Linked DNA regions of Homo sapiens: all the other regions are linked to region 5. Evidence: promoter capture Hi-C in 16 types of primary human blood cells and fetal thymus (Javierre and others, 2016). All regions are on one chromosome and are shown on one strand. Each heading gives the region's core, a stretch centred on a gene start or on the middle of the fragment in contact. The rest is flanking DNA. Distances are from core to core; before and after follow the strand shown.

What was found. The method cuts DNA at HindIII sites, captures the fragments that hold promoters and counts their contacts. A CHiCAGO score of 5 or more calls a contact.
Region 1: a contact is called between a fragment that was not itself captured here and the fragment with the promoter of WWP1 in region 5, in 1 of 17 cell types (monocytes). The highest score is 5.6, in monocytes.
Region 2: a contact is called between a fragment that was not itself captured here and the fragment with the promoter of WWP1 in region 5, in 4 of 17 cell types (activated CD4 T cells, total CD4 T cells, non-activated CD4 T cells and 1 more). The highest score is 9.6, in activated CD4 T cells.
Region 3: a contact is called between a fragment that was not itself captured here and the fragment with the promoter of WWP1 in region 5, in 5 of 17 cell types (activated CD4 T cells, total CD8 T cells, total B cells and 2 more). The highest score is 7.0, in activated CD4 T cells.
Region 4: a fragment that was not itself captured here is called in contact with the fragment with the promoter of WWP1 in region 5 in 2 of 17 cell types (monocytes and erythroblasts); the score reaches 7.6 in monocytes.

The regions. Positions count from the first base shown.
Region 1 is chr8:85,530,830-85,534,463 of GRCh38, reverse strand. LOC105375937 (a long non-coding RNA gene) reads right to left here. Exons shown (of 7, transcript XR_929129.4): 6 at 815-941; 7 at 1-62. Among named protein-coding and RNA genes, the nearest start is that of CA3-AS1, 68 kb to the right of the region's middle. The HindIII fragment of the contact is 3,691 bases long and covers 96-3,634 here.
Region 2 is chr8:85,497,506-85,501,418 of GRCh38, reverse strand. LOC105375937 (a long non-coding RNA gene) reads right to left here. Exons shown (of 7, transcript XR_929129.4): 3 at 234-364. Among named protein-coding and RNA genes, the nearest start is that of CA3-AS1, 35 kb to the right of the region's middle. The HindIII fragment of the contact is 1,438 bases long and covers 1,092-2,529 here.
Region 3 is chr8:85,478,496-85,482,205 of GRCh38, reverse strand. CA2 (carbonic anhydrase 2) reads right to left here. Exons shown (of 7, transcript NM_000067.3): 7 at 713-1,536. The coding sequence ends at 1,417. Among named protein-coding and RNA genes, the nearest start is that of CA3-AS1, 15 kb to the right of the region's middle. The HindIII fragment of the contact is 782 bases long and covers 1,433-2,214 here.
Region 4 is chr8:85,430,619-85,434,329 of GRCh38, reverse strand. No RefSeq gene overlaps it. Among named protein-coding and RNA genes, the nearest start is that of CA3, 6.4 kb to the left of the region's middle. The HindIII fragment of the contact is 1,321 bases long and covers 1,045-2,365 here.
Region 5 is chr8:86,339,844-86,343,822 of GRCh38, reverse strand. It overlaps WWP1 (WW domain containing E3 ubiquitin protein ligase 1), which reads right to left and starts at 1,276. Exons shown (of 25, transcript NM_007013.4): 1 at 893-1,276. It overlaps WWP1-AS1 (WWP1 antisense RNA 1), which reads left to right. Exons shown (of 6, transcript XR_007060994.1): 2 at 163-233; 3 at 547-741. RefSeq lists a silencer at 726-1,185. The HindIII fragment of the contact is 10,725 bases long and covers 1-3,979 here.

The DNA of each region.
Region 1 (3,634 bases), core at 692-3,191, 810 kb after region 5:
AAAGGTCATAAGCATGTTGTTCCAGTGTTGAGGAATTGTGGATGTAGCTGCAAGTTGGTTCCCTGGGAATAAAAGATTTTTTAAATTGAAAAGCTTGTGACTGAAACCTAACACCCAATACCAAAAGCTAATGGATTTATTGTTAGGGTATCCATATCCTATTATCTACTTGAGCATTTTCTAGACTCTAATAGCAACCCAAAATTCATTAAACCTTTCTATAATTCAAAGAAACACAAAGTCTGAGATATACAGGTTTCAAATCACAATCAAGGTATGCTATAACTTAAAACACTCTCAAAATATGAAGTTTCACCTTAATCCAAAAGATGTCAATTTTTCCAGAAAATGTAGCAAGATCTACAGATTTATATACTCTGTTTTTTGATAATACCAAAGATGAAATATACAGTAGGTTTTTTTAAAGAAAAATGTTATCATTCAAATATTTGTTAAGATGACATTTTAATCAAGTATCTTGAGAAATATACCAAAATCAGATTTTATTAACAGATATTTCAAAGTAGAAATGTATTTCATTATTACAGAATTACCCAGCATGGGGACACTATAAATTCTCTTTAGAAGATAAAACGTTATTCAAGTTTTTACATATCTAAAATAGTATAAGGAATAGTTCTCTATAGGTTTAATAAGATGCTAAATAAAACTTAGTTTGTGTTTTAATACTGATTAAAAAGAAAATGGTAGATTGTCTATAACTGTCTCAATTCAGAACACTTCTTTCATTTGTTTCATTGGGATTTGTCACTATTTTGGAAGTGAAAACTTTCACTTTCCGTTTTTTCCCTACCTGAAACTCTCCTGGACTTCTTTTGGTCATTACATTCAAGCCCAAATTGTTTATTCATTCACCATTTCTGTCTTCACTCTACAAACTCTTTATGTCATCAAAGCCATGTAGGAGTCTTTAGGTATGACTAAAAGGAAGACGAAAAATTAGTAATTTTTAACAGGTAGTAAGTAGTCTTCTTTATATAAAATTCCAAAATTTTCCTCTTATCCCAAACAGCTTTTCTTCTATGTCTTATAGAGCAACTGAGGCAATGAGTTACTGCTCAGCCCTGTGTTTTCTTGGAGTCCTAATAAAGATCACAGCGATGCGGAGGAATGTGGTGTCATGGCTCTTGCTTTTTTCTTAGGAGCTAGCTTGTGGGTCCTCCTTCTGTGCTAAATAACTTTCAATGATTATTGCAAGGGCTGTGCACAAGTTTGGATACCACATGAAATCAATTTGTTAATTTTCACTTGTTTCCCAAAGAATAATTAATCTCTGTGATAGAACCAACTTAACACTTCCATTTTGAGGGTCCGTTACCTGAACCATGTCAATACAGAGATTATTTTCAAAGTTACTGAGTCAGTTTTTTAAGGGCCACTGGATAGGTTTTAATCATGACTTTTAAAGTCAATTAATTACAAGTAACTCAGATGTGTTCCGTTCTGAGACTGTTTCCACACGTTTGTTAAAATTGATTCCCCTTTGGGGTCAGGTTGTACTTGCTTTGTTCCTGCTGAAATCAACATTTTGGACTCAATGAGTTTTCTTGAGTCCTATTATTTTCAGAAACTTTGCTATGGAAGAATTACTTTCTCTAACACTCAGAGTTGACATTCCATGAGACTGAGTATAACACATCCCGTACCTTCATCTACCCAAGTCAGGATTTACGCTGGGATCTGAAACTCATACCGTCGCTCAGTTCAAAATATTGCTTTTCCCCAGAAGAATATTTAGGAGTCATGGAGTCAGAAGAGATTAGCACAAGGGAGGCAGAGGATGATGGCAGTGTGGTTCTAAGAGGAATCTCAAAGGGCTCCTTCTCTAAAGGTCTCAAGTTTTACACCAATGATTGCCTGAACATGTGGGTAGAGTTGATTAAAAACTGGAATGAAAAGTATGTTATTCTTAAGGAACCAGGAGACCCAAGTTACATCTGGTAGGGCCTGGATACCATTTATATTCAGGAATAGAACAGCAACTATTTTTAGATGTAATTATTCATAATAATAAAAGGTAGCCTTATTATGCTCTTCACAGATGATACTCATGCTTCTTTAGTTCAACCAAATCTAAAATGCATATATTATCACTTCGTATTCAATGTCATTGGTTTTTCCTCATGTTTAGTTACTGTATTGCAATTACATTGCTTTATTATCCCTTTCATTTTAGATGAACAATTCCACAACCATATTAAAGACGTAATAATCTTTTCCTTGTTATTTTGAAAAACCAAGTATACAATTTCTGTTAGAATGTGCATTGTAATTTCAAATAAAAGATTTTAAAACAAAATTTTGCAGTATATCCATTTATGAACTGGGTCCTGATGGTCCTAACAGCTGAGTCCAAGAGAACTGCCAGAAGGGGAGAGTCAGTAGGGAAGGATGTGGGGGACCACAGAGATGAACTTCTTTTTATAGGGAGATACATTTAAAGAGGGTAGTAATTAGACTGGGTACGGTGGCTCACGCCTGTAATCCCAGGACTTTGGGAGGCCAAGGCAGGCGGATCACACGAGGTTAGGAATTCAAGACCAGCTTGACTAACATGGAGAAACCCCCACCTCTACTAAAAATACAAAAAATTAGCTGGGCATGGTGGCGCATGCCTGTAATCCCAGCCACTCAGGAGGCTGAGGTAGGAGAATCTCTTGAACCTGGGAAGCGGAGGTTGTGGTGAGCCAAGATTGTGCCCTTGCACACTCCAGCTTGGGCATCAAGAGCGAAACTCCGTCTCAAAAAAAAAAAAAAAAAAAGCAGGTAGTAATCGGTGAGGGAGTTTGGGGTTAGTGCTGATAAAGGGAAATTTATTGTGTTGAAGGAGAGCCATAGATTAAATATGTGTTGTCAGTGAATTCTGAAGAACATATTTCTCAGCAAGACATTGAGAAAAACAAACTAGATAAAGAGACTGTAGAATGTTTATATTCTTCTGACCAACCAAAGTAAGGCAGGCCAAGTTTATGGTTGGAATTACTCCAAATGGAGAGAGGTTCCAGCTACATTCAAAGCACTGGCACCTCTCCCAGTTGCTCTAGTGATTGACCCCCTCCTAACCTTAATGATTTTATAATATAAGGTAACATGCAAGCAAAATAAGTCTTACATAGGAGTAAGGTCTGCGGAGGAAAGTGTATGGGTGAAGGATGAGATCGTGAGGGAAGACACTTAGGTGAACTACATGGAATACTGTCACCCTGAGTGCTACAGCTTCTCACGTTTTAATGCACACACACATCACCTGGAGGTCTGGTTGAAATGCATATTCTGGCTTAGTAAGTCTAGGGTGGAGCCTGGGACTCTTGCATTTCTAAAAGACTGCTGCTGATCCATAGGTCACATACCCTAGACGTCTTGCCTCTCCCTCTGACATCAGTGTCAATAAATTATTCATTCCTGAATCCATCTCAACTGTTCTACTGTGTAGAATTGGTGTCCAGTAGGAAGTCCTGGAAGTGGGAAACTGGGAATCTTTCTCCCTGGGACTTTTGTGAACTGGCTTGACTGTTAGCTGTGGCCACTTGCTGTCTTCGCCAGTTCCTTGGCTTTTGCTATCATCAAACTCATCCAAACGGGTTAGGAAAAGTAGAAGCAGGCCCCAAAGGGG
Region 2 (3,913 bases), core at 561-3,060, 840 kb after region 5:
GGCCACCTTAAGAGATGGGAGGTTAAGAATTTACATAAACAGACCAGACGGAAACAAAGAGCTGTCAGAGAGACCCAGACAGCTCTGAGGACTAGCTTCTTCATCCTCCCCTCTGAGTTTTGGGGTTTTTGTCTTGAAGGCTCCCTGTGCTGTGTTGTTTTCCGTTCTTTGTTACACAATCCTCTTTGTAGCCTTCAGGCTGTTTGTAAAGGAAGACTACCTGATAGGCTCACCTATTCATTGTTGTCTCTTCTGGGGAGAGATCTTGATTTCAAGTCACTTCTTGGTCCAAATTTGAGTTAGGTCTCTTCCACAATCCAATAAGTGGTCAATGGTGCTCAGAGAATAGCAGACCACTGCTTTCCTGAAATTATTGAGAAACAACTTTAGCTGGAATGGGGCCTGGCAAGGTGATTATGACCAATTGCGGAGGCTAATGCAACTCCACCTTGGATGCTAATCTGCCGTGTTGGCTTCTGATCAACCTCTGTTCCTGGAGGGCCTCTAAGATTTCCAGTTTATCCATTGCTTCTCGCGCAAAGGTATTTACTGTAAATCTTACCTTTAGGTCAAACAACCTAATATACTTCAGTTATCATACTTCAGATGTCCTACACATCCTTTTGGAATTATCCTTTCCCTGTGGTATGTAAGCCCTGGGTTGGTGGGGTAATAGCATGAGTTTCCAACATCTTGTCCCACCACCTCCCGAGATACCGACCAGACACAGCTTCTGATCATAAGTTCCTATTAACTATTTCTTTCTAAGAAACTGATCTGTCACTCCTCCTTTGGCCTCTCAGCTTCCTTGAATTTTGGGGTTGGTTTGCATAGACCTGCTCAACATGGAACACCACAGCATTAGTTTATATGATCTCTAACCTAATGATCTGATTTAATTTGCATCAACAGCAAGGAGTTTGCCTAACTCTCTGCCCAAAGCCTTTTCAATACAAGTCTAACTCATTTTTTTCCAGTCTTTGAAGAACAATGGAAAATTATATGAAGTGTTGCTTCAGAATTCTTTAAAAAAAAAACATAGTATTTGAACTCCAGATGTGCCAGAGTATTAGTTACTGAAGAAAAAAGCTTGAAAGTGAATTGTTTCTCCTTATAGAATCAATGAGTTGACACAAAACCCAATTCATGCTTACTTTATACAAAAAGTACTTTTGTCACCTAACAAGACTGTGACAGCTTTATTTTACTAAAGATTAAAGAAATTTGATGCACTGATAACAATGTCATGTTCTGACATGTATAGAAATAGCTTTGCAGCCAGGCACTGTGGTACACGCCTGTAATCCCAGCACTTTGGGAGACCGAGGTGGGTGAATCACCTGAGGTCAGGAGTTTGAGACCAGCTTGGCTAACATGGTGAAACCTCATCTCTACTAAAAATACAAAAATTAGCTGGGTGTGGTGGCAGGCACCTGTAATCCCAGCTACTTGGGAGGCAGAGATAGGAGAGTTGCTTGAACCCGGAAGGTGGAGGTTGCAGTGAGCAAAGATGGCGCCACTGCACTCCAGCCTGGGTGACAGGAGTGAAACTCCTCTCAAAAAAAAAAAAAAAAAAAAGAAGTAACTTTGCTCTCATTGTAAAATAACAAGTCTTATAACTATAACTTTATATGGATAACAAACATACAGGTGAAACACAGGACATGAACGAGACGCACATTGCTTCCTGAAAAATGAGGTTTGTAACAACATACATTTGAAGACATCAGGGACATGAGTGCAGCTTGATAAAGTGTTTAATATTTCTAACTTGGGACCTCCACAAATATTCTGTAAAAATTTTCGCCAATCGTGAAAGATTTACATATAATATAAACACATGGTACATTAAAATGTGCTTTCTTTCTCCTTTTAAAATTTATATTGAATCTGTCACAGTAATTAAAACATGCCATATATATTTTATGAAGTTTTTTAACAGGAAGCAACAATGAAATAAAGTGTAGGCCCAATTAAGACACGTTTAGCAATTAGTGAAGAATAAAGTTTCCCTTTGTCATGTAACACAAATTTTTGTGCGGAAAGATATTTTGAATGGTGTTAAGGGTTGAATTGTGTCTCTCCCCCTCAAAATAATATAAGGTTGGAGTCCTATTCATTGCCGATGGAATTAGTTAAGATGAGCTCATCTTAAGTAATGGAGTAGAGTGGGCATTCCATGGTATAATCCAATATGACTGGTGTCTATAAAAAGAGGATATTTGGACATAGATACACAGGGAGCATGCCCTGTGGAAATTGGTGGTATGCTGCCACAAATCAAGTAACTGCCAGAAACTAGGAGACAAGTCTGGGACAGAGCCTTCTCTAGTACCTTCACAGGTCTGGCCAACACCTTCATCTTGGTCCCAGGGTCCAGAGTTGCAAGACAATAAACTATTGTTTAAGCCACTCAGTTTGTGGTACATTGTTACAGACACTCTAGCAAACTAATACATGGTCAACCACAGTTGGTAAGTGGATATAGGAATCCCCTCTCACTCAGTGAATCCATAAGAAGGTTAAGCTTATATGCTGAGGAGGAGCAGAGTTAGACAATAGCCCAAGTATCTGTTAGAATGAATTAGTGTATATAAGAGCTGAAAATCTACCTGCCTTTGAAAAAGATACAAGAACACTGACCTCACTGAGATTCAACCCTGTAAAAATGCATAAACTGGGGTGATATGTGATTGAAACCAGATTGCATCATAAAAGGGAAAGCACCAATAGGGAAGATGATGCCTGGACCCCAAGCTGTCCTCAGTGTGAAGGCCAAATGGGGCCTGCGCTGTGGGAGCACTCGAGAGACAATGACGTGTGTGTGTGCATGCGTGTGTGTGTGTGTGTGTGAAAGAATTGTGCATGCCAGCATTTAGAAGCACAGACAGTTCTAAGCCAATACATTATAATATAGATAATATAGAGAGAGACAAGAAGGGATTCTACTCACCTCTTTTTCTTTTTTTTTTTAATTTCTTGTGTCTTTAAAACAATTTTTTTTATTTCTGTAGGTTTTTGAGAAACAGGTGGTATTTAGTTACATGAGTAAGTTCTTTAGTGGTGATCTGTGAGATTTCTGTGCACCCATCACCAGAACAGTATACACTGAACCTGATTTGTAGTCTTTATTCCTCACCCTCTTCCCACCCTTTCCCCCTGAGTCCCTAAAGTCTATTGTGTCATTTGTATGCCTTTGTGTTCTTATAGCTTAGCTCCCACTTATGAGTGAAAACCATATGTTTGGTTTTCTATTCCTGAGATACTTCACTTAGAATAATAATCTCCTTTCCCATCCAGGTTGCTGCAAATGCCATTAATTCATTCCTTTGTATGGATGAGTAGTATTTTATCATATATATGTATTTATCATATATATATTTATCATATACACACACACACACACGCACACACACACCTCAATTTCTTTATCCACTCGTTGATTGATGGGCATTTGGGATGGTTCCACATTTTTGCAATTGTGAATTGTGCTCACCTCTCAAGAGCATCACAACTTGTGTGAGTTGAAGGAGGTATGCACTAAGGCCATGAGACTATAAGGCTCAGCTAGAAGCCCTGGCAATGGTGACAGTGCTACCAGAGATGTGAGTGGATCCCCAGCCCCAGGACAATGGCAGATCTCCCTTTCCCTCACTGGTAGCAGGAGTGATGGGAGGAGACAGAATCAGAGACATTTCAGGGGACCATCACCTGTGGAATTTGCCCACAAGAAATGTCTGTGACTTCCTACTTTATCAGCAGGCAATAATAGTGAATTATGCCCAATGAATGTTTCTTGAAGAGATGTATATACCTCTCAGATCTGAAGAAATCTCTGGAGAGAAAGAATCTTTCGCAGATCAGACTTTCTTGTGAGTCTATCAGGTAGGATCAGAGCATCAAAAATGTAAAA
Region 3 (3,710 bases), core at 574-3,073, 860 kb after region 5:
GTTAGAATGGCAATCATTAAAAAGTCAGGAAACAACAGGTGCTGGAGAGGATGTGAAGAAATAGGAACACTTTTACACTGTTGGTCAGACTGTAAACTAGTTCAATCATTGTGGAAGTCAGTGTGGCGATTCCTCAGGGATCTAGAACTAGAAATACCATTTGACCCAGCCATCCCATTACTGGGTATATACCCAAAGGATTATAAATCATGCTGCTATAAAGACACATGCACACCTATGTTTATTGCAGCACTATTCACAATAGCAAAGACTTGGAACCAACCCAAATGTCCAACAATGATAGACTGGATTAAGAAAATGTGGCACATATACACCATGAAATACTATGCAGCCATAAAAAAGGATGAGTTCATGTCCTTTGTAGGGACACGGATGAAACTGGGAACCATTATTCTCAGCAAACTATCACAAGGACAAAAAACCAAACACCACATGTTCTCACTCATAGGTGGGAATTGAACAATGAGAACACATGGACACAGGAAGGGGAACATCACACACTGGGGCCTGTCGTGGGGTTGGGGGAGTGGGGAGGGATAGCATTAGGAGATATACCTAATGCTAAATGACTAGTTAATGGGTGCAGCACACCAACATGGCACATGTATACATATGTAACAAATCTGCACGTTGTGCACATGTACCCTAAAACTTAAAGTATAATAAAAATAAATAAATAAATAACCCAGAATAGAATTCTGAATTTTATTAGAGAATATATCTAAAATACAATATTTATTAAGTTATGATATATTGTCTGAATGGAAATATACTCTGTATCACAACTCTAATTATAACAATTTTTACAGATAATACTTCATTTATATCTCTGTAATTCAAAAGTCATTAAATTACAACAGAATTCATATTTAAGATAACTTTGCTATAAATATATAATAATTTTTAAAGTTTTTCTTTAATATAACATCTTGAAATCATGAACATTTATTTTTTCTGGTTTACATTACATAGAATCATGACTATTTTACCTGATTTGCCTTAACTAGCTCAATTTATCTTGTGCTATGGATTTGCACTCAACCATTCTACTTTCCTATGTTTTAAAAGCAGCATTTTAGTCAACAATTGTGAGTGCTCATCACCCTACATGCTGTGAACAAAGTCAAGGTACTTTATTCTTATTTCTTATCCTATATTCTGTGTTACAGAAAAACTACTACCATAAACAAAGCACCAACCAGCCACAGCAGTTGTGTCAAGCATGACAATTGGTCTAGTCTTCACATTTTATTAGTAAGTCTATCAAGTAAGAGATGAAGGGTCTAGAAAACTAGACACAAAGCAACCAGGGTCCAAATCACCAAGGTAGATCTGTGCTTAGCTAAAGGGAAACACCCGAAGATTCATTATTTGGATACAGACTATGGGACCATCTTATTTGAAGGAAGCTTTGATTTGCCTGTTCTTCAGTGGCTGAGCTGGGCGCCAGTTGTCCACCATCAGTTCTTCGGGTTCACCCTCCCCATTGAAGTTAAGTTTACGGAATTTCAACACCTAAAAGACACAATAAAACATTGATAATTAATGTTTCACAATGGTATTCAGTTATATACTTGTGTTATATCTTTAAATACATTCCCCGGCCAGGCGCAGTGGCTCATGCCTGTAATCCCAGCACTTTGTAAGGCTGAGGCATGAGGCGGGTGGATCACTTGAGGTCAGCAATTCGAGACCAGCCTGGCCAACATGGTGAAACCCTGTCTCTACAAAAAAAAAAACACACACACACACACACAAAAATTAAACAGGCGTGGTAGAGCACCTGTAATCTCAGCTACTCAGGAGGCTAAGGCACAAGAATCATTTAAACCCTGGAGGCAGAGATTGCAATGAGCTGAGATTGCGCCACTGCACTCCAGCCTAGGCGACAGAGCAAGGCTCTGCCTCAAAAAACAGAAACAAAAACAAACAAAAATTACATTCCACAACATTCAGTGCTGTGCATCAATGGCCAAAATTCAGTTTGATTCCTAATGAATACATAATCACATATAGATTATGTATGTATGCTTTAATATAACAAACCAATTTATACAAAATACACAAATTCGTTGGGGTCATTTTTAAGGGAAATTTTCAGTGACCTTCTAATTTAAAAATCTAACATCAAAAGTCTATAAACTCATACCTTTAGATGCAAAATAATAACAATTTTAGTTCCAAATTAAAGCTTTGTTTTCTGCCCCAGGGAAGACAAACTACCACATCCATACAATTAGATCAAGTGATCAGGACCTGTAAGCTCCATGGGCTGAGTGACGAGCTGGCATCTCCAAATACACAAAAACACGGAAATGAATTTGCCTAGGCTGATTTGCCTTAAGAAGCTCAATTTATCTCATGCTATGGATTTGCACTCAACCATTCTACTTTCCTGTTTTAAAAACAGCATTTTAGTGAACAATTGTGAGTGCTCACCACCCTACATAGCCCTACTGGCATTTTGCCAATATATGCATTTAACATTAGAACCCCTTGTCACTGGTTGATTTTTATTCCCTTATAAACTTGTTTCAGTTTACTGGCCACCACTGAGATACAGGCAGCTGTTGAACAGTCTCCCACTTCTTCAAGGTTCTCAAAAAGTGCTACTTTCCCCCCTCTAACCAAGACGTGATCCAAATGCAAAAGGGTGGTTTGGACAGTAATATAGCAGCCCATGAATCAACAGCCTTTAACCTGATCTCTTTTGTCCAGTAATAGTCCCTCAATCACCCCCGTAGAGCCACCTTCCATGCACATACATTATAACATGCACAGCTATGGTTACTGAATGCAAGGGAGCATTCTAAGGATATATAGGGTTGATTCGTTACAACAGAATTCCAGCAATCTGAAAGAGAGTCTGTTCATAAAGTGTAAACAGGTCAAACTTTTGATCAAACCAGTATAACCGATTTCTGCTACTCACTGCACCAATTAAACTACACTGTCACATTAGTCAACTTGACTCATTGTTTTAGCATCACAGAGACAGAGCCTGGGTATAGAAAATAAAGGTAGCAGAATTAGCAGACCCATTTATACTGCTTACCTAAAATCCACGCCCCCCCATACTTCCTCATTAACAGACATCCGCCCTCTCCCTGTAAGCCTCAGTGGGGTAAACCTGCAGGTCTTAACTGACTGTGATGATCACATTCCCGGGCTAGGGACTGAGCAAGAAACACAATTCTAGCCAGTGAGAAGTGAAAGGTTTTCTAGGGGCCTTCAGGAAAGAGCTTCTCTGCTCTTAGGAAGCCAATGGAAGAGGTATTCATTTCCTCCTCAAGAAGTGGTTATATCTAGATGTGATGCTCAAAATGCTATTACAACCACCTTGAGGATGAAGTCACCAATTGGCAAGGCCAAGTCAAGGGACTCAGATAGAGGAGGACCTGCAGCCCTAGCTTCCTGAGCTGAGCATGATCCTTCCTCCAGATTCCATGTTATAGGACAAAAAAAAGAGCCCTATTGGTATTTTGCCAATATATACAATTAACATCATTAGTTTAATACCACTTTCAACTTTAAAGAGCAAACTCAGGGTACAGGGATTAATGCAGTAGGTTCAACTGCCCTTATCTATATGTGTATTTCTGCCTGTGGGTGTGTATACACCATAAATCCATTTGTTATAATGGCTCTAAATGTCAGACTATTGCTTTAAAGTTGCATTGCTCTCAGTG
Region 4 (3,711 bases), core at 456-2,955, 910 kb after region 5:
TGGGTTATTTCATTCAGGATAATGGCCTTCAGCTCCATCCATGTTGCTCTGAAAGATATGATTTCTTTTTTTTTATGACTGCACAGTATTCCGTGATATATATATGCCACGTTTTCTTCATCAAATCCACCATTGATGAACACCTGGGTTCATTCCACGTCTTTGCTAATGTAAATAGTGCTGCAATAAACATACAAATGCAGGTGTCTTTTTGATGTAACATTTTTTTTTTCCTTTGGGTAGATACCTAGTGGCAGGTATTGCTGGGTCCAATCGTAATTCTGGTTTTATTTCTTTGAGAAATGTCTATATTATTTTCCATAGAGGTTGTACTAATTTACATTCCCACCAGCAGTGTATAAGCATTCCCTTTTCTCCATAACCTCACTAACATCTGTTTTTTGACTTTTTAGTGATAGCCATTCTTACTGGTGTGAAACAGTATCTTTCTTTTTTCTTTTCTTTTTTATTTTACTTTAAGTTCTGGGATACATGTGCTGAATGTGCAGGTTTGTTACATAAGTATACATGTGCCATGGTGGTTTGTTGCACCTATCAACCCTTCATCTAGGTTTTAAGCCCCACATGCATCAAGTATTTGTCCTAATGCTCTCCCTCCACTTTCTCCCCACTCCCTGGTAGGCCCCAGTGTGTGATGTTCGCCTCCCTGTGTCCATGTGTGTGAGACGGTATCTTATTGTTGTTTTAATTTGCATTTCTCTAATGATTGGTGATGTTGCGTTTTTCTTGTGTTTGTTGGCCACTTGTGTATTTTCTTCTGACAAATGTCTGCTCATGTTCTTTGCTCACTTTTTAATGGGGTTATTTGTTTTTCTAGACCCTATCTCTCACTATATACAAAAATTAACTCGAGATGAATTAAAAGACTTATATCTAAGACCTGAAACTATAAAAATCCTAGAAGAAAGCCTAGTAAAACTCTTCAGGACATTGGCCTACGTAAAGAATTTATGATTAAGACCTCAAAAGCAAATGCAACAAAAACAAAAATAAACAAATGAGACTTAATTAAACTAAAAAGCTTCTAGACAGCAAAATAAATAATCAATAAAGAGACAACCTACAGAATGGGAGAAAATGTTTACACACTATGCATCTGCCAAAGAACTAATATCCAGAATGTATAAGGTTCTCAAACAACTCAACATGAAAAGTTATTGTCTTCAACCTGCTTTCCTTGGCTCCCTGCAGCCATACTAATTCAAGGCCAAGCCACTGTTGGAGTTGCATTGACTCATATTTGGAGGGTGGAGGTGGGAGGGTTCTATTTTCACCGTAATATAAATTATTTTCCTTCCTTGGAAAAAATCAAGCATCTACCTCATGTCTATAGCAGCTAGGAAAACAAAACAAAACAAACAAATAAACTACAAAAAAAGTTCAATTTTACATCTGGAGCTTCCTTTAAAGTATTGTTACCCTAGGCTGGTTGGCTAACTTCTCAGAATAATAATTGCCCTGGATACTTCACTTGGTTTTTAACACTAAATGAAGAAATACATGTCAAGCACTTGAAAACTAACATTTTGCATGTATTATTCTCATTTTATAAGTTTAATTAAATAAATACTTAAGATCTGGGAAGTTTTCATGCAGGAAGCACGATTTTTTAAAATTACGTCATTTAAAAAATAAAGCATCATTTAAAAAATTGCAAGTGCCATTTTGCAAGGCAAAACCTGGTGAACTGAAGATCATAACATCTTAAAGACATTAAGAGACGTTAGAGATTGCCTTTCATCAAATTTCCAAATAGCAGTGCAGAAAAATATCTGCACTGATTGCTTGAATTTTATAGCCCTTTAATGTTAGTTATTTCTTTATTTTTCTAAAATTAAGTAATGAAGACTAATAGAAATCTTTCAATTAGTATAATGCCCCACAAGCTATTTTATCTCATTTACTCCAAATAAGTAATAAAATTTAAATAATATATTCTTAAAATTTTTTAAATACTGATATAATGAGGCATGCAATTTTCAGTATTTTAAGGGTAAACATGTCTGCTATAAAAATGCTACTTAAAGCAGGACCAGAGTATATGATTGGTCTGTCATAAGTATTTTTAAGAAACATGGCATTGGTTAAAGGTATGATGAAGAGCACAATGAAACAAAATGAACAGATAAAATACTGTTAGATAAATTTGAATCTCACATTTAAAAAAATCAAGATTCCAATTAATTAGCAGCAATTAACTCTTTCCACAATTCATTACTTATGGTTTTCAGAGGTTAATTTTAAAATCAATTCTCTGTATCTATATATCTACCTATCTGTCTAGCAATATATGCATGTTGCCATGGATGTATATCTGTAAAGTATTCTGGAGAGTAAACAAGCTTCATAATCATGGACAAAGTATGTTCTTTATGTTACTGGAAACAGTTCCTGACCCCAAGAGAGGGTGCTTGAATCTCATGCAAGAGAGAATTCAGGGTGAGTCCATAGAGTAAAGTGAAAGCAAGTTTATTAAGAAAGCAAAGGAATAAAAGAATGGCTACTCCATAGACAGAGCAGCCCTGAGGGCTGCTGGTTGCCCATTTTTATGGTTATTTCTTGATTATATGCCAAATAAGGGGTTGATTCTTCACGCCTCCCTTTTTTAAATCATATAGGGTAACTTCCTGATGTTGCCATGGCATTTGTAAACTGTCATGGCATTGGTGGGAGTGTAGCAGTGAGAACCACCAGAGATCACTGTTGTTGCCATCTTCGTTTTGGTGGGGTTTAGCCAGCTTCTTTACTGCAACCTGTTTTATCAGCAAGGTCTTTATGACCTGTATCTTGTGCCAACCTCCTATCTCATCCTGTGACTCAGAATCCCTAACCGTCTGGGAATGCAGCCCAGTAAGTCTCAGCCTTATTTTACCGAGCCCTTATTCAAGATGGAGTTGCTCTGGTTCAAATGCCTCTGACATTTATATGAAAATAAATTAACCACCCCATGCCCTACATTACAATGGGAACAAAAAGAAAATGCTACTCAGTATTTCTACTTTCTCCACTGATCCTAAGATGAACTTATTTTATACTCATCTACAAAAAAAAAATGCTGTCAATTAAACCATAACACACTGCATTTTAAAAATCCCACCAACACTGTCTTAGCACTAAGATTAAGATATGATTAGTTTTTATCTGTTGGCTTTAGAAAGTTATTTGGACACTTTTGATTTTGCCTCTAAATGATGAGGAGGCACCTTGTCATTGTAAAAAAAATATGTATTTTTTCTTTAGATATGGCTCTATAATGTTTGTTACTTTGCTTTGCTTAACCTAATCCATCTTCTTGACTTGTGATGTTTTTATAAAAATAATTACTGTGATATAATATGAATTACTCTTATAAGTTACAGTCAACTGAAATCCTACAAATATATATTGGCATATGGTTTGGTATTTGGTATTTAAATAATTTTAAACTGGTATGAAATCCCTAAGTAAATTTTTTCAAGCCAGAGACATCCATTTTTCAAGCCAGAGACACCCACTGATACTAGTTAACAAGTATCAATGTAAAGAAAAATGCAATTATGGAATATAATATGATAAGCTACATAGTCTTTGAGATGGTTATAACACATACTCATTTATGTGGAACGTAAAATTGAGAAAGGGAATTTCCAATTTGAGCGTGAGTAGCTATATGAAGCTAATTGCTTCTATGTGCTCTGGTACATAAACCAT
Region 5 (3,979 bases), core at 27-2,526:
AACCTACACACACACAGAAAAAAATTTGTTAAACTTATCAAATAGAAAAAGAAGGCAAAATCAAGCCCCTGGAAAATATTTTATTCTGAAAGAGTAAAAATGTCAAAATTATAACAGACACTACTCTTCTTTGGTAATGAAGGTTTCATATATTTACCACAGCAGAGAAAACTCCAAATCGGCAGAGCAAAGAAAGGACTGTGAACAAGACTGATCATTTAAAGGTCGTAAAGGTAAGGAGCAAACTACAAAATTAAATTTTTTTAAAAAAAGAACACGAAGATGAAAGGAGAGTCTGTAAGTCACAGACAAGATAAGGACTGGTAAAATCTGCAAGGTCACTGGAACCTACCAGGTCACAAAAGGTGGAGGTGGGGGTTGCGCTGGGGGGGCGGGGGATGGGGAGCTGCAGAGTCGGTGAAGAACGGAGAGTGATAAAAACATGTCAGAAAAAGACGTTCCAAAGCTGGAGTCCTTGGTTTGCAACGCTGAAATTGGGGTGAAAGTCAGGGAACGGGCAATGAGTCCATGTATTTGTGTTTTCAGGGAGGTGTTAGGGAAAGGTGGAGGAAGGCGAAGAGAAGGCTAAGGAAGCCTAAGAACTGCGGCTGCAGAGTCACGGAAACACTTCGCTCCGCTCCAGGATCACTGGCACAGGCCTTTGCCAGGGCGAACTCCGGGCAAGACCCGTGACCCCACCCCAGAAAACTCCCGACTCCCGGGCTGGAGAAGGTAGCCAAGGTAGGGCGGACCGTCCCCCGACGGGTCCTAGGAGGGTCCAGCCCGGGGGCGGACGGCGCCGGGCGCCCAGCACCGCGGCCAAGGCTCAGGGCCCGTGCCCCCTCCCGCCCTGCCCATTCGCACCCCCAGCCCCGCGCCGCGCCGTCCTTACCCGGCGCGAAGCTGTCGGCTCCCGGCAGCCGGGCGGCCACGGCAGCGGCACCTCCTCCTGCGGCGGGCGCCCTCACCCTTCCGCGCCCAAGATCGCCATCTCGCAGCAGGCGCGGCGGCAGCAGCCACCCAGGCGTCGGCCCCGGCAGCCCAGGCCGCCAGCAGCCACTCGGAACCCGCACGCGGAGCTCGCCGACACCCGACCCTCCCCCCACCCCCACCCCGTCCACGCGCCACCCCCAGCCGACCCCACACCTCCCTTCCTCGGGAGCGCGCCGCGTGGCCGCGTCGCCGGCGCCGCGCCCTAAGCGCGCGCCTCCCCGCCGGCCCCGGCACCGCGCGCTACGCCGCGGCCGCCCAAAGCCTCCAACTCCGGACCCGGAATCCGCCTCCCCCGAGCATGCGCAGCGAGGGCGCTCGGATGCTGCCTTAGGAAAACTCCGCTCCTCCGGGTCTTCCGAGCAGTCTAGCGGAGGGGGACGGACAGCCAATAGTAGGGAGGGGCGGGGCCTGAACGTGTGGAAGGGGCGGGGCCGCCGCTGAGATTTGGGAAGAGGCTGCTCTAAGCTCGCGCTGGGCACTGCTAATTTGACTTTCCGGTCGGCGGCTGATCCCGGAGCAGGACTTCTTAAGGTCCGGGGGCAAAAGTAGGCTGTCCATAAATACTCCTTGACCTAGCTGGGTGACCTCGAACACATTGCAAGAGTAAATAATTGCATTTAGCCATTGGTCATACCCGAAGACTTTCAGTCCATTTTTTATTAATCAAAACGTTCATCTGTGGAAGCCCCACCACCTAGTCCTCACTCACATCAGCCCGGTGATAAAGCAGATACTTATTGACCGAGTATACGTGTCCGCACAATTAACGCACACAACAATCTGACAAAGTAGTGTCTACTGTCTGCATTTTACAGAAAAGTCAACTAGTTTAGAAAAGTACTGTTGGTTATGTGTATTGCTTTTAGAAGAAAGGCCAATGTGCAAATAGAAGTCAGTGGGACCACATTGCTTACCAGGTGACCCGGTTTCTACTTCAGAGAAGCAGAAGCCTTCAGGCATGGATTTCTACAGCTTTTGCCCAACCACCTGACCAACCCCCATAGATTATATCTACGTCCACACCCAGACTTACTAGTTTTCCTTCTATCTCGGAGGCTAGATGTCCCTGCTCCTCTCCACTGCCTGCTCCCCACTGTGGGCGGTCCTTGGCACATCTTTAACTTCACCCTCTCCACTGCCTACAACTCCTCAGCATAATCACGTTTTAAGATTAGGTCCTAAATTTTCCCTTGATTTTAAAACCTCTGGTTCTCTCTCCCCTTCCATTTTAACTGAGCTTTTTGAAAGAACTGTGTACCAAAAACAACCCCAACACTTCATGAGTGTGTACAGAATTCAACAAGTATCTCTTGACTGAACAATGCACATTCCCGCCTACCTCCATGCATTAGTTCTTGTCCTCTGGCTTCATAGTTGAAATTGGTGCACATTATATCCACAAAGATCATTCGAAAATATACATCTGTGTCATTCCACTGCTTAAAATCATTCTTTGGCTTTTCGGAGCTCTCCTGACAAAGATTAACGTGATATTCAAGGTTCCTTTGATGCTCACATGCTCTATCTCTCCTGTTATGAAAAACTCTTCACAGTGCCCCATATGTGCCCACTCATCTCTGCTTTAAACATGTACTAAGATTTTCTTCATCTTTTTGCTTTTGCTGTCTGGTCCCTTTAAATAGATGCAATAATGTGCTTACAAACACGTCCTCAGAAATTCCGTAGGTATTCCCCAGCAGGGATCTGGACTCCTTCTCCAGAATGCATGCAGGCCTCCTCTTCCTGCTCTGTGTCTCACTTTCAGCTCCCCTCATTGCTCAATTTCCTCCCCGTTCAGAAGCTCTTAGTACTCACCTAGTCCTCAAGCTGACACCCAATATTGAACCAGCCTTTTGTTATTGACTGTTTGGTTTCAAATGAACAATATTATAAATAGTATTCCATAACCATTGTTCATGTCCTTATTAACTGTCTTAGATAAATTATTAAAAGTAATAAAAAAGTATGAACAAGTTTAGCCCTTTTGAAACATATTGGCAACTACCTTCCAGAAAGAGCATAGGCTCAGGTATCACATCGCCCAGCATCAAAACACAGCTCTGCCACCCAGTGCCACATTCTGACTTTCACAGGCCCTAGGTGCTTATACCTGTGTGGGCCTCATCTTCCATAAAATAATACTACAAAATATATTTTATTACTGCATTGGTATGAAGAAAAAGATATTAACATTATACATTAAAATATTTTCTTTGACCTAAATATTCAATTTTTTGCCTTCTGATTTTAAAAGAAATTAAAACATTTTTATGGGCCCCCGAAAGTGTTATAAGCCTGAGGCACTGTGTCTACTGTGCCTAATGGATAACCTGACCCTCCTGCTGCCTATGAGCTGAGAGATTTGGCCAATTGCTTAATCTAATTGTGTCTCAACTAGAAAATTAATATAGTGCTTCCACATGTTGTATTAAAAAATATATATAAATTGCTATAAATAACACGCATAGAGCTACTTAACACATGAGCATGGCACATAATCAAGAAATGATTGTCATAATGGTTATCAATTTTCCCACAACACTACATGACAGTATGTGATTGTCCTTCTTCCATGTGCCCAAATCATCATGGTATGTTTTCATATGTGTATGTATGGTAGCTTATTGTTTGTCCTTTGTCCATTTTCTTACTGAGGTATTTCACAAAAGGGTGCTTCACACAATGTAGATATTAGTCCTTTGTAAAACTATTGATCTTTTCCATTTTTGTATTCTTCCATTGTTTTTTACTTCATACATCTTTCCCATCCTGAGATCATATAATTCATCTGTCTTTACTTTTTTCTACTTGTTTGACTATTTTACTTTTTTCATTAAATAATTTAATTTTCTTGGATTTATTTTGCAATGATAATCTAACTTTTATTCCTTTAAAAATAGCTCATGGTATTCCCCCAAACCATTTGTTTAAAAAATTGTTCTCTAACTGTAGTGGTTTTAAAATAGGTCTACAGGCCGGGCACTGT